5 separate regions of the Homo sapiens genome follow, and all the other regions are linked to region 4. The links are contacts of gene promoters, found by promoter capture Hi-C in blood cells and fetal thymus (Javierre and others, 2016). All regions are on one chromosome and are shown on one strand. The core of a region is centred on a gene start or on the middle of the fragment in contact, and the rest is flanking DNA. Distances in the headings are between cores, read along the strand shown.

Evidence for each region. Contacts are between HindIII fragments. The CHiCAGO score rates a contact against its expected background, and 5 or more counts as called.
Region 1: the fragment with the promoter of ZNF337 here is called in contact with the fragment with the promoter of NAPB in region 4 in 6 of 17 cell types (total B cells, total CD4 T cells, non-activated CD4 T cells and 3 more); the score reaches 17.6 in total B cells.
Region 2: a fragment that was not itself captured here is called in contact with the fragment with the promoter of NAPB in region 4 in 4 of 17 cell types (naive CD8 T cells, naive CD4 T cells, non-activated CD4 T cells and 1 more); the score reaches 9.3 in naive CD8 T cells.
Region 3: a contact is called between a fragment that was not itself captured here and the fragment with the promoter of NAPB in region 4, in 3 of 17 cell types (total CD4 T cells, non-activated CD4 T cells and naive CD8 T cells). The highest score is 9.7, in total CD4 T cells.
Region 5: a fragment that was not itself captured here is called in contact with the fragment with the promoter of NAPB in region 4 in 1 of 17 cell types (total B cells); the score reaches 5.1 in total B cells.

Annotation. Positions count from the first base shown.
Region 1 is chr20:25,695,581-25,698,280 of GRCh38, forward strand. ZNF337 (zinc finger protein 337) reads right to left here and starts at 1,273. Exons shown (of 5, transcript NM_015655.4): 1 at 1,179-1,273. It overlaps LOC107985400 (a long non-coding RNA gene), which reads left to right and starts at 1,461. Exons shown (of 2, transcript XR_007067557.1): 1 at 1,461-1,583. RefSeq lists an enhancer at 677-786. The HindIII fragment of the contact is 13,942 bases long and covers 1-2,700 here.
Region 2 is chr20:20,715,052-20,717,751 of GRCh38, forward strand. No RefSeq gene overlaps it. Among named protein-coding and RNA genes, the nearest start is that of RALGAPA2, 3.8 kb to the left of the region's middle. The HindIII fragment of the contact is 3,801 bases long and covers 1-2,700 here.
Region 3 is chr20:21,128,201-21,130,900 of GRCh38, forward strand. The region is part of intron 1 of KIZ (kizuna centrosomal protein); the gene reads left to right. Among named protein-coding and RNA genes, the nearest start is that of KIZ, 3.5 kb to the left of the region's middle. The HindIII fragment of the contact is 7,603 bases long and covers 1-2,700 here.
Region 4 is chr20:23,420,108-23,422,807 of GRCh38, forward strand. NAPB (NSF attachment protein beta) reads right to left here and starts at 1,381. Exons shown (of 11, transcript NM_022080.3): 1 at 1,198-1,381. The coding sequence starts at 1,295. RefSeq lists silencers at 370-599, 1,230-1,319 and an enhancer at 1,570-1,759. The HindIII fragment of the contact is 2,788 bases long and covers 1-2,180 here.
Region 5 is chr20:25,627,896-25,630,595 of GRCh38, forward strand. The region is part of intron 1 of ZNF337-AS1 (ZNF337 antisense RNA 1); the gene reads left to right. Among named protein-coding and RNA genes, the nearest start is that of ZNF337-AS1, 5.2 kb to the left of the region's middle. The HindIII fragment of the contact is 6,800 bases long and covers 1-2,700 here.

The sequences.
Region 1 (2,700 bases), core at 23-2,522, 2.3 Mb after region 4:
CGCTGTGTTACCCAGGCTAGCGTGCAGTGCAGCCAACATAGCTGGTTACAGCCTCCACCTCCTGGACTCAACTGACTGGGCCTCCCAAGTAGCTGAGGCCACAGGCATGGGACACCACGCCCCGCTAATTTTTTTATTTTTCTAATTTCATGTAGAGACAGGGTCTTGCTGTGCTGCCCAGGCTGCTCTGGAACTCCTGGCCTCCCAAAGTGCTGGGACTACAGGCATGAGCCACACTGCTCAGCCTGATTTATGACTTTACCTGAAATTCCTGTCTCCCTGAATTGTATAAAATTAACCTGCAAGCCTGACCATCTCGGGCACTTTCACAGGACCTCTTGAGGCTGAATAACCTGGGCCACAGTCACTCATACTGACTAGGAATAAACCTTTTTAAATATATTTTGGCAGAACCCGGATTTTGCCGTCATTAGCAAGGCCCCAGGGAAGAGGCCACCTGGGTCCCCACAGCCACCTCACCTCCCGCGGACGCTGCCCCACGCAGATCCCCCCCCCCCCCCACCAAAACACGTCTAGACGTGCCCGTGCGAGGACATTTGGTCCCGGCCTACACTCCTATCCGCGGAAGATCGTCCCAAGGCGGGGTGCTCCCAACCCAAAGCAGCGGCCCTTCCCCAAAACACGCGGGCGAAGTCCTCCCCTGTCCCGCCTCCCACAATAAAGTCTGGAGCATCAGAGTCGGAGGGAACCCGAGTCGGACCTAGCCCATCCGTCTCATGGCTGTAACCCCCACCCCACCAGTGGACCCTGGCTGTGGCCGAGTCCCCCTCCACCTCCGGCCAAAAGACCCCCGTGGCAGCTCGCTAGGCCGCTGGCCCGTCCCCACCCGAGGAGCGGCGACCCTGGCACAAGAGGACCTGGGTTGCTCGGCGCCCCTGTGAAATCCGGGCTGTTCACCGCCCGAGCCGCCACTACACGCAACCGGGAACGGAGACTGAGTGGCGGCCCAGACCCGGGGCGCTCGGCAAGCCGCAGCCCCACCGCCCACTTCAAGGCGCGGCCTGGGTCTCCGCCCCTCCCCAGAACGCGGAGACGCCGGGCCTGGAGGAGCGCGCGCTACGGCCCCAGCAGCGCCCTCACGTCCCAGGCCTTCCCGGCCCTTCTTCCTGCGCCGGAAGGGCGCGCTGCAGAGAGGGACCCGCAGGAGCGCAGCTCACCGGGGCGGCTGAGGGCGAACCGAGGCGGTGAGGTCACCGATGGTGGACCACGCATCTCACGGCTCGCTGACGCCCAGGGATCTGGAACGCTCTGCGCCGCCCGGGACTACACTACCCAGAATCCTCAGCGCGGCCGGGACTACGCTACCCAGCATCCTCGGCGCGGCCCGGAGGCTATGCGACCCTGCGCGTCGCATCCCCTCGGTGGACTACACTCCCCAGAGTCCTCGGGAGTCGTCCAGGTACACGCCCCAGAATATTGGTCATAGCGGTCCACCCGGGACTGCGCGACCCGGAATCCTTGGAAGGACTTCTCGGAAGGACTCCTCTCTGACAGGTGGGGCGAGCCTATGGTCGTTTGGACGTGGAGGGATCCTTTCAGAACCGGCGATTTCTTTTATTTAGGTAGCCCTATACATACATTAAGCATATTTTCCCATTTCTATGATATAGGTAAATAATTTTCCCACTGTCTTTTGATTATGGGTATGTCTTTTTTTTTTCTTTTGTTTCTTTTTTTTGCTATGTAGTACTTTTGATCTCTGATTTTCCTACGGATTTTGTGGTTTTATCATTCACATTTAGATCTCTCAATGGTTTAATTTTTCTCCAGGTACACACTGTAAATATACAATTATTTTTAAAATTTTCTAATATTTTATTAATTTCCCATTAAATTTATTAAAAATATAGTCTTTTACCAAATAATTTAAGGTTTCAGCTACATAATTCAGTATACTCAATTTACATTTGCATTTCAATTTCTAATTGTTCCCCCATTTATCTAATTATGCATCAATGCCAGAATTCTTTCATTATGTAGGGTGTATAATATGCTGATATCTTTTGTGGCTTGCCAAACCACGTAGACTTTATATTTCAGGCCTTTACTAGGTATACTTGCTGTTTGCTTTTTCTCTTTTGGTTTTTAAATTTTTAATTATTCTGGATAAATATTAGTTGTACATATTTATAGGGTACATGTTATGTTTTGATACAGGCATACAGTGTTTAATGGTCAAATGAGGGTGATTGGGGTATCCATCCCCTCAAGCATTTAGCATTTCTTTGTTTTAGGAAGTTTCCAATTCTCTCTTATTTTTAAATATATAGTAAAATTGTTCTTAACTATAGTCACTGTATAGTGCTACCAACTACTAGATCTTATTCATTCTAACTGTATTTTTGTATCGATTAACAAGTCCCTCTTTATCTCCTCTACCCACCATCCTTCCCAGCCTCTGTTAACTATCTCATTCTACTCTCCATCTCCATGAGTTCACGTTTTTAGCCCCACAAATGAGTGAGCACATGTGATATTTGTCATGCTGTGCCTCATTTCGCTTAACATAATGTCCTCCATTTTCATACATGCTATTGAAAATGACAGAATTTCATTCTTTTAATGACTGGCTAATATCCCATTGTGTTAATGTACCACACTTTCCTTATCCATTCATCTGTTGATAGACACTTTGATTCTATATCTTTACTATTTTGGATAGTGCTGTAGTAAACATGA
Region 2 (2,700 bases), core at 166-2,665, 2.7 Mb before region 4:
AGAAAACATAGCTGGTAGAAATGTTAGATGCTACAACTCTTATGGAAGGAAATTTGGCAAAAATAAATATTTGCCTTTTGACCCAGAATTTCAATTTCTTTTTTTCTTTTTTCTTTTTCTTTTTTTTTTTTTTTTTTTTGAGATGAAGTCTGGCTCTGTCACCCAGGCTGGAGTGCAGTGGAGCTATCTCGCCAGGTCCAAACGATTCTCCTGCCTCAGCCTCCCGATTAGCCGGGATTACAGGCGTGCGCAACCACGACTGGCTAATTTTTTTGTATTTTTAGTGGAGAGGGGGTTTTGTCATGTTGGCCAGGCTGGTCTTGAACATCTGACCTCAGGTGATCCATGGGCTTTGGCCTCCCATGTTTTGTTGTTTTTTTTTTTTTTTGACAGTCTTGCTCTGTCCCCCAGGCTGGAGTGCAGTGGTGTGATTTCAGCTCACTGCAACTTCTGCCTATCAGGTTCAAGCGATTCTCCTGCCTCAGCCTCCTGAGTAGCTGGAATTACAGGCATGTGCCACCATGCCTGGCTAATTTTTGTATTTTTAGTAGAGACAGAGTTTCACCATGTTGGCCAGGCTGCTCTTGAACGCCTGACCTCAAGTGATCCACGGGCCTCAGCCTCCCAGAATGCTGGGATTACAGGTGTGAACCACCACACCCAGCCAGAATTTTGACTTCTAGGAATCTACCCTGCAGATATTCTAATATATAACACTGGAAGGATTTAAAAAAAAACCTTAACATTAATGCCTACCTAAGTGGGATAGAGGATGAGGTGGAAAGGACTCAGTGTCCTCTCTGAGTATATCTTTTTATATTTTTTTCATTTTTGAACCATGTAAATGTTTTCCATATTCAAAAATTGAAACAGAAAAAGACAAGCCTGAAAATAAAAAATAAATGGAAAAAATAAAACTAACAATATATGTAATTGGTAGGATAACTCTATGGAGAAATAAATATAAAACCATGCATGGAAGTTTATTCCTTTCACCACTATTTATAATAGCCAATGTAGTGGGTTGAACAGTGCCCACCCTTCCCCCCAAAAAGATATGTCTATGTCCTAATCCCTGAAAACTGTGACTGAGACTTTATTTGGCAGAAGGATCTTTGCAAATATAATAAGATCCTCAGTTATCTGGGTAGACCCTAAATCCAATGACAAATGTGCTTGTAAGAAACAAAAGAAGTGAAAACATAGAAACAAAGGAGAAGGGCACATGAAGACCAAGGTAGAGATTGAGGTTATGGAGCCACAAACGAAAAGACCCTTATAGCCAAGAGAAACTGGAAGAGGCAAGAAAGGATTCTCCCTTGGAGTCTTCCAGAGGAAGCCCAACACCTTGATTTCAGACTTCAGGATTCCAGAACCGTGAGAAAATAAATTTCTGTTGTTTTAAGCCACGCAATTTGTGGTAATCTGTTGCAGCCACTCTAGAAAACGAGTATGACCAGATACCAGAGAGAACCCTGTGATTGTCTAACAAGGTACTTATATACACATACATCTATAAGTGGCTAATTTAATCCAGTTCATCCACACAGTGTAGCACTATGGAGTACTATGCAGCTGTTTAAAAATAATGGGAAAATTTCGCGTGTACTGACTTGACATAATTTTCCAGATACGTTGTTAAATATAAAAGGAACAGAATATTAAAAATTTTTTTTTCAAAAAGAAACACTGGAAGGATAAATAAAAAGCTAACATCAATTCCTACCTAAGTGGGATGGAGGATGAGGTGGAAAGGAATGAAACAGGGTCCTCTCTGAGTATACCTTTTTATATTTTTTTCACTTTTGAACCATATAAATGTTTTACATATTCAAAAATTAAAATAGAAAAAGACAAACCTGAAAATCAAAAATAAATGAAAAAATAAACCCAACCGTATATGTAATTGGTAGCATAACTATATAGAGAAAATAATTATTTCAAGTGATTTTTGAAAACAGTATTCTGATTGTACCTCCTTAGAGGGATGTATTCTAAGGGCAAAAAGATCTGCAAAGAATTAATAATTATTATTAAGAACCAAGATTTTCAGTGTAAGAGAAAGGAGATACAAAAATATCACATCAAAGAAAATGTGAAAACTCTGTAATACTAGATTTTACTTCAAATATCCATTTGAACTCATAATTTAAAAATACAGCATGTGTTGGCCAGGCGTGGTGGCTCACGCCTGTAATCCCAGCACTTTGGAAGGCCAAGGCAGGTGGCTGAGACTATCCTGGGCAAGATGGTGAAACCCTGTCTTTACTACAAATGCAAAAATTAGCTGGGCGTGGTGATGCATGCCTGTAATCTCAGCTACTGGGGAGACTGAGGCAGGAGAATCGTTTGAACCAGGGAGTTGGAGGTTGCAGTAAGCCGAGATGGCACCACTGCACTCAGTCTGGTGACAAAGCGAGACTCCATCTCAAAAAAAAAAAAAAAAAAAACTAAACAAAAACAAACAAACAAATGTCATACATGAATGAAATGAATGAATAAAAAGAAGGCCATACATTCTTTTCTATTTGCTGGACGCAGTGGCCCACACCTGTAACCCCAGCACTTTGGGAGGCCGAGGCAGACGGATCACTTGAGGTCAGGAGTTCGAGATCAGCCTGGCCAACATGGTGAAACCCTGTCTCTACTAAAAATACAAAAGTTAGCTGGGTGTGGTGGCAGGCACCTGTAATCCCAGCT
Region 3 (2,700 bases), core at 10-2,509, 2.3 Mb before region 4:
TGGGGTTTCACCATGTTGGCCAGGCTGATCTCGAACCCCTGACCTCAGGTGATCTGCCTGCCTCTGCCTTCCAAAGTGTTGGGATTACAGGTGTGAGCCACTGCACCCGGCCTTGGTTGTACCTTTTTAAACAAAGAAACACAAAGCATCCCACTGATCACAGATACCACTGTCTCCTAAAATTCCTGAGTCATTTCATAGGGAGCAACCCTGGGTAGTCACAGCTGCTTTATCAATCCAGAAACTTCTGGGAAGTGGGAGACAAAAAAAAACTCCCTCTTTCTCAGCCCTTTTAGAGGTGGTCATTGCAATGTTAGCTGGTCAAATAACCAGCATATTTCCAGCCCAAGTCATGTTAGCTGTAGTTACACGTAGATGTAATTTTATCGTCTGAATGTTTTCCTATGTGTGTACAGTGTTTTTTCTGCATTGTGGTGAAAGTCAATAATTGAATCTAAAAGAGTCTAATGGAGTGACTTGTTACAGTGTGTATAGCACCCACAAGCATGGTAGAAACTTATAAGTGGAATTGGCTCTTACGGTTATACAAAAACATCCTTTTAAAAGGGCCCATTAGCCAGCCGCGGTTTTTTCAGTGCCTATATTGATTCAGAGTAAGATATCATAATAGTCTAGAAACTGACACTGAGATATTAGTAGAGTAAGCTGAAGATGGTATAGAATTGTGGTATCGAGACAAAAACAGAATAACAAGTGGCTTAAAAGTAGAAAACTCAGCAAGATAAGGACCACTTAGCTGTGTAAAACTGAAAGGTCCAAGTGAGGGGTGACTGAAAACATGAACTATGGGTAAGCATCCCAGGGATGGGTATTTCAAAGATTCTGAATAGAGATTTAATATGTAAGAATTGCAAGCCATGGAAAGGCTTTTCATTGAGGCAAATATCTGGTTTTTAGTATTAAATTTTAAAAAGACATGGAGGGCTCAGCATTCTGAGGTGCTGCAGTGTGGATGAGGGGCTAGAAAATAGGCCTGTGAAGAAGAGTTAACAAGATTACCACCGTTTTGCCTGGGAGAGAAAGCCAAGAGGAGTTTGATTATCAGGGTATGAAGTGTTATGATAGAGAAGTGTGAGCAGCAGATGTCTGCATCTGCTGAAGATGTTTTACAAATAAATTTTACATTCATTACTAAGAAGAACTTGCTGCTTGGGAGGTGGTGGATTTCCAAAGTGACTGTGGTCCTTTTTCACTAGAAGTCATAGGTGAATTTTAGAAATTATTTTAAAGTGGCTGGGCGTGGTGGCTCACACCTATAATCCCGGCACTTTGAGAGGCAGAGGCGGGTGGATCACCTGAGGTGAGGAGTTTGAGACCAGCCTGGCCAACATGGCAAAACCCCGTCTCTACTAAAAATACAAAAATTAATTGGGTGTGGTGGCGCATGCCTGTAATCCTAGCTACTTGGGAAACTGAAACAGAATCCCTTAAACCCAGGAGGGAGAGGTTGCAGTGAGCTGAGATTGTGCCATTGTACTCCAGCTTGGGCAACAGAGTGAGACTCCATCTCAAAAAAAAAAAATGTGTGTATATATATATATATTTTTTAAAGTAAATTCTAGCTTACAAAAAAGTTGCGAATATAGGACAAAGACCTCCAGTGTTCCTGTCACCCAGATCCCTCAACTATTAACATTTTATTAGATTTTTGACACTGAGATATCAGTTGGGTATCTATTTAAATCTGTCTATCTAAAACCATTAGCCTTTTCTGATCTGTTTGAGAAGTGCATATATGATGCCTCATCACTCCTAAAATCTTCAATGTGTGTTTCCAAAAGCCAAGGATGTTCTTGTACATGATCACACCATACAGCCCTCCTAGTGGTGAAACCAGTCCGCAGACTGCATCAGATTTCACCAGCTATCTTAACGATGCTCCCTTTTTTTTCCCCCTGGTCCAGTGGCTCACCTGCAAACCGCGGTTGCATTTGGCTGGCATGTCTCTTCAGTCTCCCTACATCTGGAACGATTCCTCAGTCTTTCCCTGTCTTTCATGTTCCTGACAAGTTCATAGAGTACAGCTTTCATTCTAGAGGGTGACCCTCAAGCTGAGTCTATCTGATGGTGTCTCATTACCAGACTGCAGTCGTGCTTTCTTAGGAATACAACAGAAATGAAGCACTACCTCAGGGCATGGGGTCATAGATGTATTCAGAGGTCTTCCTTTCTTTGTAATTTAATGACAAGTTGCTCACACTATCCAGTCATTCATTCTGCATGAACCAAGTACCCAATTGATCATGAAACTCTAGGGGGGGAATGGTAACTAATAAAAATTTCTAATGTGGAAGCAATTATGCTATGTTTCCTTCACTTCTATTCTAAGTTCACTCTTACTAGTGAGAAGGTAAAGATTTGTGATGCTATTAGTTAAAAATGTGTGTTTTTGTAATTTTTTTCCTTTTAATCTTTTTTTTTTCTTTTTAACATAGGCATACTGCAACCCATGGGTTGTGTTCCCCAAGTGAAGATTCTGTGTCTGGATTTTGGACCCCATATTCCCATTAAATGAATTTTGGTTAAATAGTAGTTTCCATTTAACATTATGCAAAGGAAAGAAAGTTATGTAACCTGTAATGTAGCTAACAGTGACTTTTGGGATGATCTTTTTTTTAAAGGAAAAGAACTATTCTGAAGATATATAGAAACTGATAATTAAGAGCTCACAAATGGAGC
Region 4 (2,700 bases), core at 131-2,630:
CACACACAAAATTTCTGCCTTTCTCATCCTAAACAGCTGAATCATTCACATATTCAACAGCCCAGAATTCTTCCGGGCTGTCAGTGCGGGCTCTGCTTTTTGAGAGGTTGGAATTTAAAATCCTCCTTAGGAGAGCACGGAAGAATTACAGGAAATTAAAGGGATTCCCAAAGGACGCCTGACTTAAACAGCAGCAGCGTTACCGTTAATCAAACAGGAGGCTCTGGCTATCAATCAATCTCCGGAGAAGGAAAAATACTATGCTGAGAAAATATATTCGTTCATTAGTCAAGTATTTACTAAAGGTGTACTCGGCGCAAGGCCCCTGGAGAGAGGCCAACAAGCACACCAGCTCTGGATCCCTCGCCGGACCGCCCCCTCCCCGGCGGGGCCCACCTGCAGGCGGGACGCCCCCAGGTGCGCGTTCCAGGCGCCGGGGGCGGCCCCCGCACCCACCCCTCCGGCTCCACCCCGGCGCGCCTCACCCGGACCGGTCTCAGGAGCGATACGGGCTTCAGCGTGGCGAAATGCACCAATACGACTCGCTACGCACTGAGAAGGGGGCCCCACGCGCGCCCCGAGCTACCGCGCCCGCGGGCCTCAGGGAGCCGCTGACCTTCTAGGTCGTGGGACCCCCGCACCAACCCGGGCCAGGGCGAGGGGGGCGATCTGGGGTCTCCAGAGGGCGCGTGAGGCTGACAGCCCCCCCCCCAGAGTGTTCTAGGGGCTTCGTGGGGCGCTTGGGGAGCTCTGGGGGTCCTAGGGGTTCTCTGAAAGGCGCGTGGGGGCTGAGGGTCCCTGTGAGACTCTGGGGATTCTAAGGGGGCGTGTTAGGGGATCCGGAGAGCGTGTGGGGGCTGAGGAACCCTGGGGAGTTCTGCCGGCCCTAGGGGGTCTCTAAAGTGCGCGTGGGGGCTGAGAGCCCCTGGGAGGATGCGGGGTTTCCAGGGACCCTGGGGGGGCCTGTGGGGTCTCTGGAGGGCGCGTGCGGACTGAGGGCCCCTGGGCGTCCTGGGGGCTCCAGGGGGCGCTGGGGGACCCTACAGGATTTCTGGAGGGCGCCTGCAGGCTGAGGGCCCCTAGACGTGGTCTGAGGGCCCCAGAGGTTGCGTGGGGGACTCGGGGGGTCAGCCTGAAAGGAAGGGGGCCAAGTACGGAGACCCCCCCCCCCCAGGGCACGCACGGTCTGGCGCTCACCCAAACAGCCCTCGGAGGAAGGAGTGGGAGGCCTTGACTCGCTTCTCGGCCTCCGCCATCAGCTGTACTGCCTCACGCTCCTTCCCCGCGTTGTCCATGTCGCCCGCCGCGGCCGCCACAGCCCCCTCAGCCGGCTCGCTGTGCGCCCAGGCGCCTTAACCCTCCCTCTGGCGGCCGCAGGGACGCAGGCGCAGGCGCGACGCGCGAGGCCTTTCGGGAGCTGTAGTCCGGGTCCTGTCATGGCGGCGGGGATTCGCGAGCCGCCTACTACAGTTCCCAGGAGGCCCCGGGGCGGGGTGTGTGTGAGCCGAGCTTGCGCACCGCTAGCTCCCAGGACGTCGGCGCAGGGGGCGTGACCCCCCCAAAGGGGTCCTGGGCCAAGGTGAACTTTAATTTTGTATGTATGCAGAAATGGAAAAATGATCCGTGGCCTCTAGTAAAGATCACCTCCTCAGTAAGACTCGCATGGCAATGGGATGGATGAAGGAACAGGGGATAACAGATTGGATGGAACCCACACCCTTCATGCAAGTTCTGCAAAAGAGAATCTGGTGTAGCCACCAAAGCATCACATGCTTGATACCGCCCACCAAAAAACGAGCAACAGCTGGCAATAAGAGCCATTTTTATCTCCAAGAGCAAGACGTCCCCAATATAAGTTCAGTTATTTTTAAATCTCCCCAAACTGTAACTTTCTGTTGGTCCTCTCTTCCTTGGTTATAAATGAGTTGCATATATGCAATATATGCATAATCCACTCTTTTGTTGACTGAATTATATTCAATGGATGTGAACCATTGAACTCTTATCCTTTACATAATACTGGCCATAGTGGATGGATCTCCAGGGACAAAATGTTTGCCTGCCAGGAAGACTTCTAATCTCCTAGGAGAAGTATCCATAGATAGATGGGATCCTGTGCCAGAGACTTTCAGGCCTGTCCCAGAGGGAGTTATTTTTGAAGACAATGTCTAGACCATTCAAGCTTGGCAGTGCTAAGGCAGAGATGCTGAAACTAATAAGAAAATCACTGCCAAGTGAGATTTATGACAGTTTCAAACTGTTAATAAATACACTCTGGGCACTGGCATGCAAAATTTTAGAAAATGAAGACTGTCTGTAGAGGGCAAGGCAAGAGGGGCCAAACTCCTAGAAAGAAAGTTGACTAAAGCACATGTCACAGAGTTCATACATTTCAGGACTCCGTAGAGATAGAAAGAAATCTCAGCTCTTCGTGCAGTTTATTTACGATTACTACATGCATTATTCTAACTTTGAAAAGCTGAGCTGTGTGTTTTTGGAGAGAGAAGGAGGCGGGAAATTGGAGGTGACCGTAAATGCAGGGGAGACCAGAGAAAAACTGTAAAAAGTGAACATAAGCATTTGGAAAGCAGAGCAGTCTATGGGGGCTTAATGGAGTGAGGCTAAGTCAAAAGCTCCTAAGTAAATCAGTGTGTTGATTAAATCAGTTGTTCCCTAACGTGGTTCGATGCAGAAGCTCTA
Region 5 (2,700 bases), core at 124-2,623, 2.2 Mb after region 4:
CCCAGGCTGGAGGGCAGTGGCACAATCTCGGCTCACTGCAACTTCTGTCTCCTGGGCTCAAGTGGTCCTCCCACCACCATGTGGCAGCATGCTTGGCTAATTTTTTTTTTTTTAATTTACAAAGAAAAGAGGCTTAATTGGCTTATGGTTCTTTGGCCTATATAGACTTCTGCTTTTGGGGAGGCCTCAGGAAACTTACAATCAGGGTGGAAGGTGAAGAGAAAGCAAGCACATCTTCACATGGCTGGCAGGAGAGAGGAGGTGGGGAGGTGCTACACACTTTCAGTCAACCAGATCTTATGAGACCTCTATCTCAAGAACAGCAAGGGGGACGTCTGCCCCCATGATTCAATCATCTCCCACCAGGCCTCTCCTCCAACACTGGTGATTACAATTCGACATGAAATTTGAGTGGGGACACAGACCCAAGCCATATCAACTAATAAAGATAACACTAACTGTTGTAACAAACTGCAAATTTTAGTTGTCTGGGCAGTGAAATAGAAGTTCACTTCTCATTTATATAAAGTGTGGTGTGGATTGGTCCTGGGTTGATAGTGTCATTTCTCCATGGGGTGACGCAAGGCCCAGGGTTTTTCTTGTCATAGCTTCGCCATCCCCTAGAACCTGGGAATCTTCTATCCCCGGGCACTGGAAACCTGGAGAGATCATCGGGGAAGCACACCTGATTTTGAAAAACCCTGGCCTGGAAATGACCACTTCCCCTCTGCTTGTAGCCTATGGTTTGGCCATGACAAAGACAAAGGTGGCTGGGAGATGTCATCTGTGGCTGGGCAGCTGTTCCCAGCAGCCCCTCTATCTTCTGGAAGGTGGAGCATGAATTTTTTGTTGGTTCACTTGTGAATCTGTCACACCAACGAGTGCTGTAAAATTCGGAGTGGGATTTTACATAGAGAAAGCTAGAAAAACAACTGTGTGTTCATGAGGCCAAGGCATCAGGGTTGAGCACAAACAATTTGAGTGCAGATTTGTCTCTGCTAGTTAATCTCACTTTACAGTGCCCCCAATGTCATGGGTTATCCGGAAGGTTATTTCATGTACCGCCTTTGTGTGGAAGCACATTTCCATAGATAGTAGATAAAGATCTCTTAACCTTATATTTTCCCTCATATCATCATAAATAGCTTATGCAATGCCATTTCAGTGAGTCTGACAACTTCTCCAATGAGGTCTGGATGCAGCAGCGTATCTTTTTGTTATATATAAAAAAGAGTGACAGCATTCATCGTTTACAGTGACATCAATGAATTCTGCTTGTAGAGGTTCCCCATCCATCCGTTCATAATACCTTTTATGACTTCAGGCTTTTAAACATCGCACTCTGGTCTGTTTTTCAAATATACCACCATTATCGGCTCAGGAAGCCATTCTTCAATATTTCATTTTCCTAAGAATATCTGGAATATCTTAATTCCTATGAGGCTTCTCCATGGGGTAGGCTCTCAGGTAGGACTTTAACAGGAAAAGGGGGAAAACTGCTGCTGGAGACACGGTTCCTGAGCACAGCTGTCTGCTCTGTACTGGGAAGTTAAAAGGGTTAGAAAAAGGGGAGTTATAACACAGACTGAGTTATATCTTGGGTCATTCCTGACCTGGAAACATATTAGCTCTTCAGAGCCCTTGAGTTTGCCATCAGGAGAAGGAGAGACACCCATTCAGGTGAAGCCTGGAACCACCAAGGGTTGGGTGAGGAATGGGCAGTGAATGTCCTTCCTAAGATACCCTTCTGCTGATGAGAAGTGCATTCTTGGTTTCCCAGGAAGTGCCCATTTGGACAGAGATGGAGAATTACGAGGGGCATTGCTTCTCAATGTTTTGTCACTTTTGAGGTGCCACGGTGTCTTTCTTTGGCCACCATTTCCTGGTTTCTTCCTTGTCTGCAGATCTTACTAGAGTTAGGCAAAATCAATTTCAGGTTCAGCTCTAGTGGACTGGGAACAATCTCCAGCAGGGAACTCCCTGGACAGTCTGGGGACAGCTGGGACGATTCCTGAAGCAACTTAGATAGGAAAAATCACGATGAGCTTTGATTTAGGGAAGAACATTGTTGGGCACCCTGAGTCCACCTGCCACCAGCCGCGGAGGGCATGTTATAAACACACCAGACACGCCAAGGATGGGAACATTGGACCTAATTTAGCAACAACAAATCCTTTCCCTCATGCATACTTCTCTAATTACAAATGAGATTGTGGTAGGCTTAGCATGGGTAAATAAAATTGATTCTGTCCACAAAATTGGAGATGATAAATGTGTTCAAGAAAGGGCTTCAAATGCCTAGCTGCTGATTAGAAAAGGCAAAATAATTGTGAGATGGTGACTAATAGATGGAAGGAATTGTGGTAGAATTGGTCTCCTTGCAGAAATATCACTGGTCTGATCTTTTCAAGATAATTACCATCAAATGACTGTGTGTTTCATGCTCTACCCTTCAGTTGGCCGAGGCATTGCAGGAATCCCCACATTGACTCGGCTGTAGGTGGCTCTGGCTTTCTCTCTGTTTGAAGCCTGTAACGGAGCCCCTCTGTTTTCTTTTTTCTTTTTTTTAATTATACTTTAAGTTCTAGGGTACATGTGCACAACGTGCAGGTTTGTTACATAGGTATATATGTGTCATGTTGGTGTGCTGCACCCATTAACTCGTTATTTACAGTAGGTATTTCTCCTAATGCTATCCCT